Regions from separate parts of the Homo sapiens genome. Here region 2 is linked to region 1. Evidence: promoter capture Hi-C in 16 types of primary human blood cells and fetal thymus (Javierre and others, 2016). All regions are on one chromosome and are shown on one strand. The core of a region is centred on a gene start or on the middle of the fragment in contact, and the rest is flanking DNA. Distances in the headings are between cores, read along the strand shown.

What was found. Contacts are between HindIII fragments. The CHiCAGO score rates a contact against its expected background, and 5 or more counts as called.
Region 2: a fragment that was not itself captured here is called in contact with the fragment with the promoter of TMEM185A in region 1 in 1 of 17 cell types (non-activated CD4 T cells); the score reaches 5.0 in non-activated CD4 T cells.

Annotation. Positions count from the first base shown.
Region 1 is chrX:149,628,043-149,633,402 of GRCh38, forward strand. TMEM185A (transmembrane protein 185A) reads right to left here and starts at 3,750. Exons shown (of 7, transcript NM_032508.4): 1 at 3,501-3,750. The coding sequence starts at 3,538. RefSeq lists silencers at 3,243-3,292, 3,303-3,712. The HindIII fragment of the contact is 7,464 bases long and covers 1-4,942 here.
Region 2 is chrX:149,951,026-149,956,958 of GRCh38, forward strand. The region is part of intron 7 of EOLA2-DT (EOLA2 divergent transcript); the gene reads left to right. Among named protein-coding and RNA genes, the nearest start is that of EOLA2-DT, 15 kb to the left of the region's middle. The HindIII fragment of the contact is 3,193 bases long and covers 241-3,433 here.

The DNA.
Region 1 (5,360 bases), core at 2,500-4,999:
ACCCCATGCCCACAAGTTGGAACCCCCAGAGCAACACTTCTCAGCCTTTGTTCCAGTCTAGCACACCTGAGGGATACACCACACTCCCATCAGGAGCTCACAACAGATGACTAAGAAGGCCCAGCAGAGTTTTCACAGCCTTCCAGTGCCACATGGCTACCAGGGTGGAAGGGCCTTCTCTGAACCAGCAACTCCCCCAAAGTAGCAGAAAATTTCAAGGCTCCATGGTGAGTGCCGGGAGCCCACCTAATGCTACCTACTACCAGATCCCTACCACCTACAATGCCTCAGAATCAGTTTGCCTACTCTAAGAACAGGGCTCTTTCACTGTTAGGAAGCCTCAGGCATTCAAGGAAGGACTTGTTTGTGGGTCCGGTACATCTGTTTCGGCATGTCTTAACCTGCATAACTAAAAAGCAATTATGAAAAGAAGTTCATGATCAACCAGTTCAGTGCCAGATGGAAATAGGTAGAGTGGGTCAGCTGGCAGCCCTGTACATCTGAGTGTTGACACTTGTGAATCATTCTCTGTCACTATAGTTTCCAGAGCCTTGCCAACGCAGCAGTGGGTTCAGACTTACCAAGATCCAAAAGGCTGGAAAGGGGATCTGGAGCCATGACCCATGCCTTGGGACCCACCAAACCATGACAGTGACTATTTCTATGACAAAGACATGCTCTTCAAAGTAAATATAGCCATATTCTGCCTTAGTGCCATGTTCTCTCCCATCTCTCCAAAGCAATGGCTGCACTCTGAAGGTGGGAAGAGTGTGAGAAGAAAGAGAACCAGGCCACAGACCACCAGGAAAGCAGTGATTGAAAGCAGCAGCTCTAGATTTATCTTATAGGCTCTGGAGAGTTATTCAGTTATTTACTCCACAAATATTTATTGAGCCAGGTACTATTCCAAGTATGCAGGCTACGATACTGACACAGTCACGGCCTTGACCCCATGGAGCTTAAAGTTTAGTGGGGGAGGCAGGTATTAATCAAATAAGCATCCAGACAGACACAAGGGTACAAATATGCACTATGATGGAGGAGTAGTAAATACTACAGGAACTGTAGAAACAGGGAGCAGTAAATCTGGTCAGGGAAGTCAGGAATGCTTCCCTTAGCAAGTGCCAAGTGAGGATAAATAGGAGTTCACTAGGTCTGGAGGAGAGGAAAAGAGAGGGAAACATTCCTGGTAAAGAGAACAGTGTGTGACAAGGTCCTGGGGTAGGAGGGAGATGTTGAATTGGTTCAAAAATAGAGGCAGGGAGCAAAGCAGTAGCATCAAGGTTTGAGTCCCCAGCATAAGGTAACTTCCTGTGTACACCCCTCAGTTTTCTTTCTCCTATAGAGAAGGCCTTCCTCAGCATGGAAGGAGACTAAAGCACACTGTCAAAAACTAGGAGTGCTCAGGAGAGGTGAAACACTACCAGCTAAAAAAACAAATCTGATTTACCAATAATACCTGGCCAATGTCCTCTTGAAATATCTGTAAAATTAAGGAACTCACTACCTCTGGCAACAATGAATCAGGAAAATGGCACAGTATAAAAGACCTTTAAACTTTTCAGGTAGAAATACATTTTAATGCAGGTAGAATTAAGAGATTGATGAATATGTTGAGAATTACTATAAATCTGCTTAGATACCAGGTATTTCACTGTAATTTCATATACTAATTTTTTTGGGGGGAAAAGGGCTAAAGGAAAAAACGGTTAAAGGTAGTATCAGTGCAGCACTATTTTGCTTTGGCAACTCCGTTAGCCTGTTTGATCACTTAAGGCAGTTTCTTGAGGCTTCTGAATTCTCTGTCACCTTGCAAACAAGTCACTGTAGCTTTCTATTTGTAAGGCACTTTGTAATCAATCCTTAATTGGCCTCCCTACCCCACTGAGAGATTATACTCATTCTACAGATAAAACAATAGATAAGTGAGTTGCCCAAGGGCACAAAACAATTCAGTTTTTACTTAACTTTCTTATCACCATCTCCAAATAGAAGACATACAGGGCTTGTCCAGCCACAGCACCAACCCTACTACCCTGCAGACCAATCTTAACCCCCTGATGCAGCAGAGGAAGGGACTGCAGTTAGTTCTGTTACCTCCTCTATGCCTTCGAAGCCAACAATGATAATGTCTGCACCGTGTTAGAGACACTGGCACTCCTAACCAGAACATGAACTCAAAGTGGAATAAGAGCACATACAAAGTCACAATGACTCACAAGTTAAAATGTCACCATCCCTAGGGAGACTGCACCCTCAACATACAAATACTCCCCTAAAACTTCCTTTCATCCTCAACAAGCAGCCAAGGCATAGGTCCCCAGAGTTGGCCCCCGCAGTACAGCACTGCACAGTACTGTAAGGCATCTTAAGTGTACAAGCCCTTCTTCACCCCATGCTGAGACCGCCAGCATCTAAAGCACCTAACATAGGTTACAGCACACAAATATTTACTGAGCACGTCTTCCCAACTGGCAAATAAGGGAAACGGATACTCCTTTCGGAGAGTAGTGCATTTAAGAGATCAGTTAGGCCAACTCCTCATTTTACAGAAGGGCCAAAGAAGGGCAGAGAATCACCCAGTTACATATGGCCTCGTCTCCAATCCAAGTCTTTGGGCTCAGTTTAGTTCCACAAACATTTTATATGTGCCTACTATGTGCCAGATACGGTGGGTGGGAGGCGCTGGGGACACTGAGATGAGCAGGAGATGGTCTCAGCTTCAGGGAGCTCACAGCCTGGGGTAAAGAACAGTTACAAAACAGTCGGGCAAGTGCAAGGACAGGCGCTTGAGTGCTTAGCCAGTGTTTTCTCCACACTGTCCACTGGGTGTTCCCCATCTGGAAAAGAAGGACAGCAATATCTACTTCCTGCAAATAAACTTGTAGTGAAGACTGATGAGAAAATGAGTATGGAAAATGATCAGGCTCACCCAGAAATGCATTATATAAGGTATTGCCATACCCCGACACTGACTCCAAGGATTCAACAGTGTTTCAGGTATCCGTTCAACAAAGAAGCAAACAAGAGAGGGATGGGCATAAACCCAAGGAAAACCCCAAGGACTGCGAGGAACTGGAGGAAACAGCTGGGGTGGGGGTAGGGGTGTTGGGTCGAGTGAGACGGCCCTGACGCGGAGAATGGAGGGCCCGCAGCGGCGCAGAAGAGGATGGAACCGAGACGAAGAAGTTGGGACACCAATGAGGGACAGCAAGCAGAAAAGAATGGGGTTCCCTTGGGGCAGGACGGGGCTCGCGGCCGGGCCCTTCCGGCCGTGGCCGGGCAGGGGCTGAAAGCACCGGGCACGGGAGGAGGAAGCGGGCGGGCGCCGAGGCCGACTGTTTTGCCTGGGGACCGCTTGCACCCGCAGGGAGGCTCGGGCAGGCGCCCGGGTCCTCGGGCTGCAGCATCTCGCCCGCCGTGCCTCCCCGGAGCCGAACACCAGCCCGCGCCCGAGCCCGCAGCGCGGACTCCCGGGGGCGCCAACGACGCCGCCTCACCTCGGGTTGAAGTCCTGGAAGAGGCCCCTCAGGTTCATGGCGGAGAACTTCACCGCGGCGTCCTCCTCCTCCTCCCCCGCACCCCGTGCTGCACAGCCTGCGCCTTACAGCGGGTTCATGGCGCCAGCGCCAGCCGCGTCCACGCTGCTGCTCCCGCTACTGCTGCCGTCCCCGCTGCCGTCGCCGTCGCCGTCGCCGCCGCCGCCGCCGCCGCCGCCGCCGCCGCCGCCGCCGCCGCCCGGAGAAACCTGAGCCACCGCCCCCTGCCCCTCCTTCCGGGCTTCCGTACGAGGGCCGCGCATGCGTCCGGAGCCCCGCCCAGAGCGCTCCTCGCTGGGAGGTCCCCATCCTTGTGTCCGCACGCGACCGGCGGAGGAGATGGCAGGGGGATGGAGGCTGGGAGTGAGCAGGGCCCCGAGGAAGGGGATGCTGACGGGCTGAAGGCCTGCAGGGAGGGAGCGCGCCGCCCGGGAGTCTGGCGGGCAGATCTTGGCAGACACCTGTCACCTTGGCCCGCGCTACCTTCTGGAGATTTTCCCCAGTGACGACTGAGCCCTGGGAGTAGTGACAATGAGTGAGACGTTGCATTTTTGGCGATGTCATCCCAGGCTTCACCTGTCACATCTGTCAACGACTCCAAAGTTTGGGTCCCAACTTCCCTTCCAATTCCCAAGCCAGCGTGTCCAGATATGCTGGCTATTCCCTACTCAAGTTACCTAGCACCAAAGTCACTTCCCGTGCCAACCGCCTTCCCCTCCTGGGTTCCCTTTTTCCCTTAGCAGCAGGCCTATTCGTACGCAGGGGGGTATTCAAGCAGGAGACGTGGAAATCATCCTCATTTTTCTAACCCAGTTCAGAGCCTCCTTGGATCCTGTCTAAACTTTGTGGTCACTTCACACCTGACCTCTGCCTCCACTCCAGGCTGCCCTACTTACAAGTACCAGGTTCATCTTCCTTGGGCAAGTCAACATCTTTGAGTCTCAGTTTTTCTCCTCCGCAGAATGGAAATGATAAAAACCTCTTTTCTAAGCGTGTTAGGAAGATTCAGTGAGATCGTGTGCATAACACACTGCCTGGTACATGCTAGGTGTACAAAGAATGCTGTTGCTATCTGGTACTCTTTCAGGTGTCAACCTCCTCAAGGATTTTGTTTGCTTTTGGAATCCAAGAGCAGGACAAGCTCATAGCAGGTGACCTAGTTTACCATCTTCACTTTGGGCAGATTTAAGTTTTCATGAGCACAACAATGCCTTAAACATTAGTCTACTATCATTATGGATAATAGTCATCCTTTGTTGCAATAGCAGAGTTTCACAAATGACAATTTTATACTGTTTAGCCCCAAGGGCAGCTTGAGAGAATCACAATTGCGATAGTCATACTTAGTCTTGATGTATCACCTTTCTTCTGAGAACGTAAAAACATATCATAAGTGGTAATTAAGCTTCCCAACACCCACTGGGAAATGGATATTATTATATGAGCTGATTTTAAGGTTGAGTAATCCAAATCAAGTTTTCATCTGCTGAAGCACCAGGACCCTGTCCCAGACTTTTTCACCCATCTTCCTTTCCCATCCTCTGGGTAAAGTCCAATGTGTAGCCCAGAGGAGGTTCTCAATGAACACTCAAATACAGACGAGGAATTAAGGCGCAGAGAAGCTTGTATAACAGGCCCTGAGCGAGCCAGCAAGTAAGGGTGAAGGAGCACAGATGAAACTCAGGGTCTAGCTGAACCTGCAGCCCATACTGTTAGAAAGAGGTGCTTGCCAGTGGTCAGATTGGACAGCACCATCTTCATTACCAGTGACCGTGCCCCAAGCAGGCATGAGAAGATGGTCTGCCAGTTCAGACACTTGAA
Region 2 (5,933 bases), core at 587-3,086, 320 kb after region 1:
GATTTAGTGCTCTTTATAGACCTTTCTCTCTCAGATATTTCCTGAGTTTTTCATTCTAGAAATGCTGGAATCATATATTTGTAACTGAAACTAGTAATCTTCTTGTTCTTGAGTCTTCTTCATCTCTAAAGTGGACATAAAATACATACCTCTCGTGGTTGTTGTGAAGCCCGTGGCACTATTCATGGTAGAGCAGGTGATCAAAAGTCGCTTGCATCCTTCTGTCCAATTGGGAACAAAAGCTTTCATGTATAATTCTCACACCTCTCCCTTGGAATCAGACAATCTTATCAGAAAACCTAAAAATTTTTTTCAATCAATTTAGAAGTTTATTTTGCCAAGGCTAAGGACATGCCTGTGACACTGCCTAAGAAGGTCCTGGTGACATGCCCAAGGTGGTCAGGCCACAGTTTGGTTTTTAGGGAGATATAAGACATCAACTGATACATGTGAGATGTACATTCGTTTGGTCTGGAAAAGCAGGACAAATGGAAGTTGGAGGACTTCCAGGTCATAGGCAGGTTCAGAAATTTTCTGACTGGTATTAATAATTGGTTGAGTTATTATCTAAAGACCTGGAATCATTAGAAGGGAATGTCTGGTTTACGATAAGGAGTTGTGGAGACCACAGTTTTATCATGCAGATGAAACCTCCAGGTAGCAGGCTTCAGAGAGAATAGATTGTAAATGTTTCTTATTAGACTTAAAGAGTCTATTGTATCAGTCTTAAGGACAGTGTTCATGTTGATGGTAATGAGGCATGTCCGACTCCCCCTTCCTCATCATGTCCTGAACTAGTTTTTCAGGTTAACTTTGGAATGCCCTTGGCCAAGAGGAGGGGTCCATTCAGGTGGTTGGGGAGCTTAGAATTTTATTTTTGGTTTACATTCTTTCCTTCTGGCCAGGATTTGCCAGAGGCAACATCAATGGACAAACTTTTATTTTGTCCCATAGCATTGTGGAGGTGGTTTGGCTGCCTGCCCCAGGTCCATCCTGTCCCTTGGTAGGATCTCTATGGCCAAGAGACTTACAGCCAAAAGACTTATAGACAGTTTAAATGTTCTAGGCCAGACAGGAATGGACGTGGACAGGCATTTATTACTCCTTAACAATTTTGAAGTAATGTAAAAGCCAACAAACAGAAAGTAAAAGGCGAGGTTACAAAATTGCCTTATCTATCTTTAACTTCTATGCATTGAGCTACTGTAGTCTTGGTTTTAGTTACAGATTTTTAGCAATTGGCTATATAAGCAAGCCTAAATTTTAAAAAGAAGAGAAAATGAAGCATACATTTAAAAGTTCTTAAACTTTTTTTTTGAAACAGGGTTTCACTTTGTCACTCAGGCTGGAGTGCAGTGATGTGATCATAGCTTTCTGCAGCCTTGACTTCCGGGCTCAAGTGATCCTCCCACCTCCGCCTCCTTAGTAGCTAGGACCACAGGCATGCACCAGCACACCCAGCAAATTAAAAAAAAATTTTTTTTAAAGATGAGATCTCACTATGTTGCCCAGGCTGGTCTGAAATTCCTGTCCTCAAGCAATCCTCCTGCCTTAGCCTCCCAAAGTGCTGAGATTACAGGCATGAGCTACCATGCCTGGCCTAAAACATTTTTAATGGAAGTATAATTTGCAAACAGAAAACATGCCCAAATATTAAGTGAATGCACTGATGAACATTCACAACTTAACAAGATAGCCAGCACTTAAATCACAAAATAGAACACCGCTAGGACCTCTTTGTAATACCCTCCAAGTCACTACTTCTGCCCAAAGGTAATCGCTATTTTGCAACATTTTTTATTACTTTATATAAATGAGATCGTACACTGCGTAATCTTATTACTGTCTGGATTTTTATATTAAATATTGCTTGTGAGATTCATCCATGTTGTCATGTCAGCAATACTTTATTCTCATTGCCATATACTATTCCATTTTTATCAGTATACCATGATATATTTACCCATTCTGCTATTTGTACATACTGGAATTGTTCCCAGGTTTTTGTAATACAAGCAAAGCTGCTATGAACATGCTTGGATTTACTTTCTTTGGTGAATATGTATTACTGTTATGTACATGTCTAGAGGTAAAATTGATGATTTATGGGATATGCATATGTTTAATTTTAGCAGATATTGAAAAACAGATTTTTAAAGCGGCTGTAGCAATTTACATTACCACCAGCAATGTGTGAGTTCCATTTGCTCTCCGTCCTTGACAGCACATGTTGTCACTTAGGTGGGTATGCAGGGGGATCCTTTTTTGGCATGTTTACTTATTTTTTTACACAGTGCAAACTGGTGTGGTGTACCGTTTTATGGCTTTTGCCTAATGCCATCACTAAAGTTACCAAACAATTCCATCACCTCAGAAATTGCTTTGTACCGCCTCTTGGCATTCATCCCCTTCTCCATTCTCAACCCTGGCAGCCACTGATCTAATTTCCATTCCCATAGTTTTCCAGATTATCAAAGAAACAGAATGATATGGTTGTAACCTTTTGGATGTAGCTTCTTTCAGGTAGCAAAATGCTTTTGAGATTTAACTATGTTGTTGTGTTTTCAGTAGTTCATTCCTTTGTGTGTGTGTGTGATAGTCTGACTCTCTTGCCCAGGCTGGAGTGCAGTGGTGTGATCTCAGCCCACTGCAACCCCTGCCTCCCACATTCAAGGGATTCTCATGCCTCAACCTCCCAAGTAGCTGGAACTACAGGCGTGCACCATTGCGCCTGGCTAATTTTTATATTTTTAGTAGAGACAAGGTTTCGCCATGTTGACCAGGCTGGTCTCGAACTCCTGGCCTCAAGTGATGCACCTGCCTCTGCCTCCCAAAGTGCTGGGATGACAGGCGTGAGCCACTGCACCCAGTCCAGAAGTTCATTGCTTTTTATTGCTGGGTCATATTCCATTGTATAGATGTATCACATTTTGTTTATGAGTCCTATAGTTGAGGGATACTTGGTTTGTTTCCATTTTTTCTCTATTATGGATACATTGTTATAAACATTTGTGTACAGGGTTTGTGTGAACATAGTTTTTATTTCTTTTGAGTAAATAGGAGTGGGATTGCTGGGTTACTTGGTAAATTGCTGGGTTATAGTTCTTTTTGAGAACTTGTCAAACTTTTGCTGAGTGGCTATACCATTTTGCATTCCCACTAGGAGGGCTTGAGAGTTCCAGTTGTTCCACATTCTTGCCAGCACCTGGTACTGCTAGTTTTTCTGTGTGTGTTTTTGTTTTGTTTTGCCACTCTAAGGTGTATAGTGGTATCTCTTTCTGGTTATAATTTGCATTTCTCTAATGATTATTAATGTTGAACATCTTTTAACATGCTTATTTGCCATCCATCTAACTTCTGTGGTAAATTTTCTGTTTATATTCTCGTCCATTCAAAATATTGGGTTGCTTGTTTTCTTATGGTTAATTTTAAAAGCTTTATTTGGAAATAATTATAGATTTAAAGGAAGTTGCAAAGAATTGTATTCCCTTCACTCACCCTTCCCCAATGTTAACATCTTGCCTAACTATGGTACAATATTAGTATCAGAAAATTGACATTGGTACAATCCACAGAGGTTATTCAGATTTTACCAGTTATACATATACTTGTGTGTGTGTGTTTCTATGCAATTTTATCACATGTATAGTTTTGTGTAGCTTCCACGACAATCAACATACAGAACTGTGCCATCACCGCAACATTCCTCTCATATTACCTCTCCACAGCCTCACCCACTTCCTACTCTACATCCCTTACCCTTATCAACCACTATTTGGTTTACCATCTGTATAATGTTGTTATTCCAAGGATGTTATATACATGGAAGCATACTATATAGTATGTTTCCTTTTCATATTTGCTTTTTTTCCCACTCAGCATAATTCCTGGAGGTTCCTTCAAGTTGTGACATGTATCAATAGTTCATTCCTTTTTATTGCTGGATAGTATTTCATAGTATGGATGTACTATAATTTAAGCATTGTCAATTTTGGTAGTTTCCACTTTGAGCTATTCCAAATAAAGTTTCTGTGAATATTCATATACAAGTTTCTACATTAACATAAGTTTTCATTTCTCTGGGGTGAATGCCCAAGAGTGCCATTGCTGGGTCATTTGGTAAATATATTTTTTTGTTTTTCTGAGATGGAGTCTTGTTCTGTTGCCAGGCTGGAGTGCTGTGGTGCATTCTCGGCTCACTGCAACCTCCAACTCCCTGGTTCAAGCGATTCTCCTGCCTCAGCCTCCTGAGTAGCTGGGATTACAGGCATGCGCCACCATGCCCAGCTAATTTTTGTATTTTTAGTAGTGACAGGGTTTCACCATGTTCGCCAGGATGGTCTTGAATTCCTGACCTCATAATCTGCCTGCCTTGGCCTCCTAAAGTGCTGGGATTACAGGCGTGAGCCACTGTGCCTGGCCAATCCATTTTTAGTGTTTAAAGAAACTGCAAACCACCATGGCACATGTATACCTATGTAACTAACCTGCACATTCTGCACATGTACCCCAGAATTTAAAGTATAATAAATAATAATACTAATTTTTTTTTTAAAAAAAGAAACTGCCAAACTATTTTCCAGAGTGATTGTGCAGTTTTACATTTTGACCAGCGATGTCAGTGATCCATTTGCTCCACATCTTCATTAGCATTTGGTGTTGTCACAGTGTTTTATTTTAGCCACTTTGATAGGTTTCTAGCAATATCTCATTGTGGTTTTAATTTGCATTTTCCTGAGGGCTAATGATATTGAACATCTTTTCATGTGCTTATTTGGCATCTGTGTATCCTTTTCAGTTAAATGTCTTTTGCCTCTTTTCTAATTGGATTTTTTTTTTAATGTTGAGTTTTGAGAGTTCTTTATATATTCCAGATATAAGTCCTTTGTGGGATATATAATTTGCAAATTTTTCTCTCAGTTTGTAATTTGTCTTTTTTCATCTCCTTGAAAGAGTTTTTCACAGAGCAAAGTTTTTAAATTTGATGAGGTATAATTTTCAATTTTTACTTTTATGGGTCATGCTTTTGATGCCAAATGTAAGAACTCCTCACCTAATCTTATGTCTGAAGATTTTCTCTTGTGTTTTTTTGAAAAGTTTTACATTTTTACATTTCACACTATGTTCCATTTTGAGTTAAAGTTTGAGATTTAAGTCAAGGCTCATTTTTCTTTTTCTTTCTTTCCCCCCCTCCGCCATGTATGTCCAGTTGCTTCAACACCACTTGTTGAAAAAACTCTGCCTCTTCCTTTGAATTGGTTTTGCACCTTTTTCAAAAATCAATTGGGCATCTTTGCGTGGATCTATTTCTGTCTCTGATACTCTTTTTCGTCTCTTTTTAAGAGTCAGTGTCTCACTCCATGCCCAGGCTGGAGTGCAGTGATGCAATCATGGCTTACTCCTAGGCTTAAGCAATTCTCCTGCCTCAGCCTTCTGAGTAGCTGGGACTACAGGTGTGTGCCACCATATGCAGCTTTTTTTATTATTATTATTTTTTGTAGAGACAGAGTCTCACTCTGTTGCCCAGGCTAGTCTCAAACTCCTGGCCTCAAGTGATCCTTCCACCTTGGCCTCCCAAAGTATATGTTTGCTATTCTGTTCTGTTGTTCTATGTGTCTATACCTCCTTCAGTACCATACTGTGTGGATCATTATTACTGTTGAATTTTGAGGGTTTTTTTTTTATTCTGGATACAAGTTCTTCTTCAGATTTATGATTTGCAAATATTCTTTTCCAGTCTGTGGTTAGTCTTTTTATTCTCTTAAGAGTGCTCTTTACAAATATCTTTCTTTTATTAATTTCCAATATCGCCTGATAACGTTCTTTTTTTTTTTTTTTTTTTAGACACAGTCTCACTCTGTCACCCAGGCTGGAGTGCAGTGATGCAATCTTGGCTCACTGCAACCTCTGTCTCCCAGGTTCAAGCGATTCTC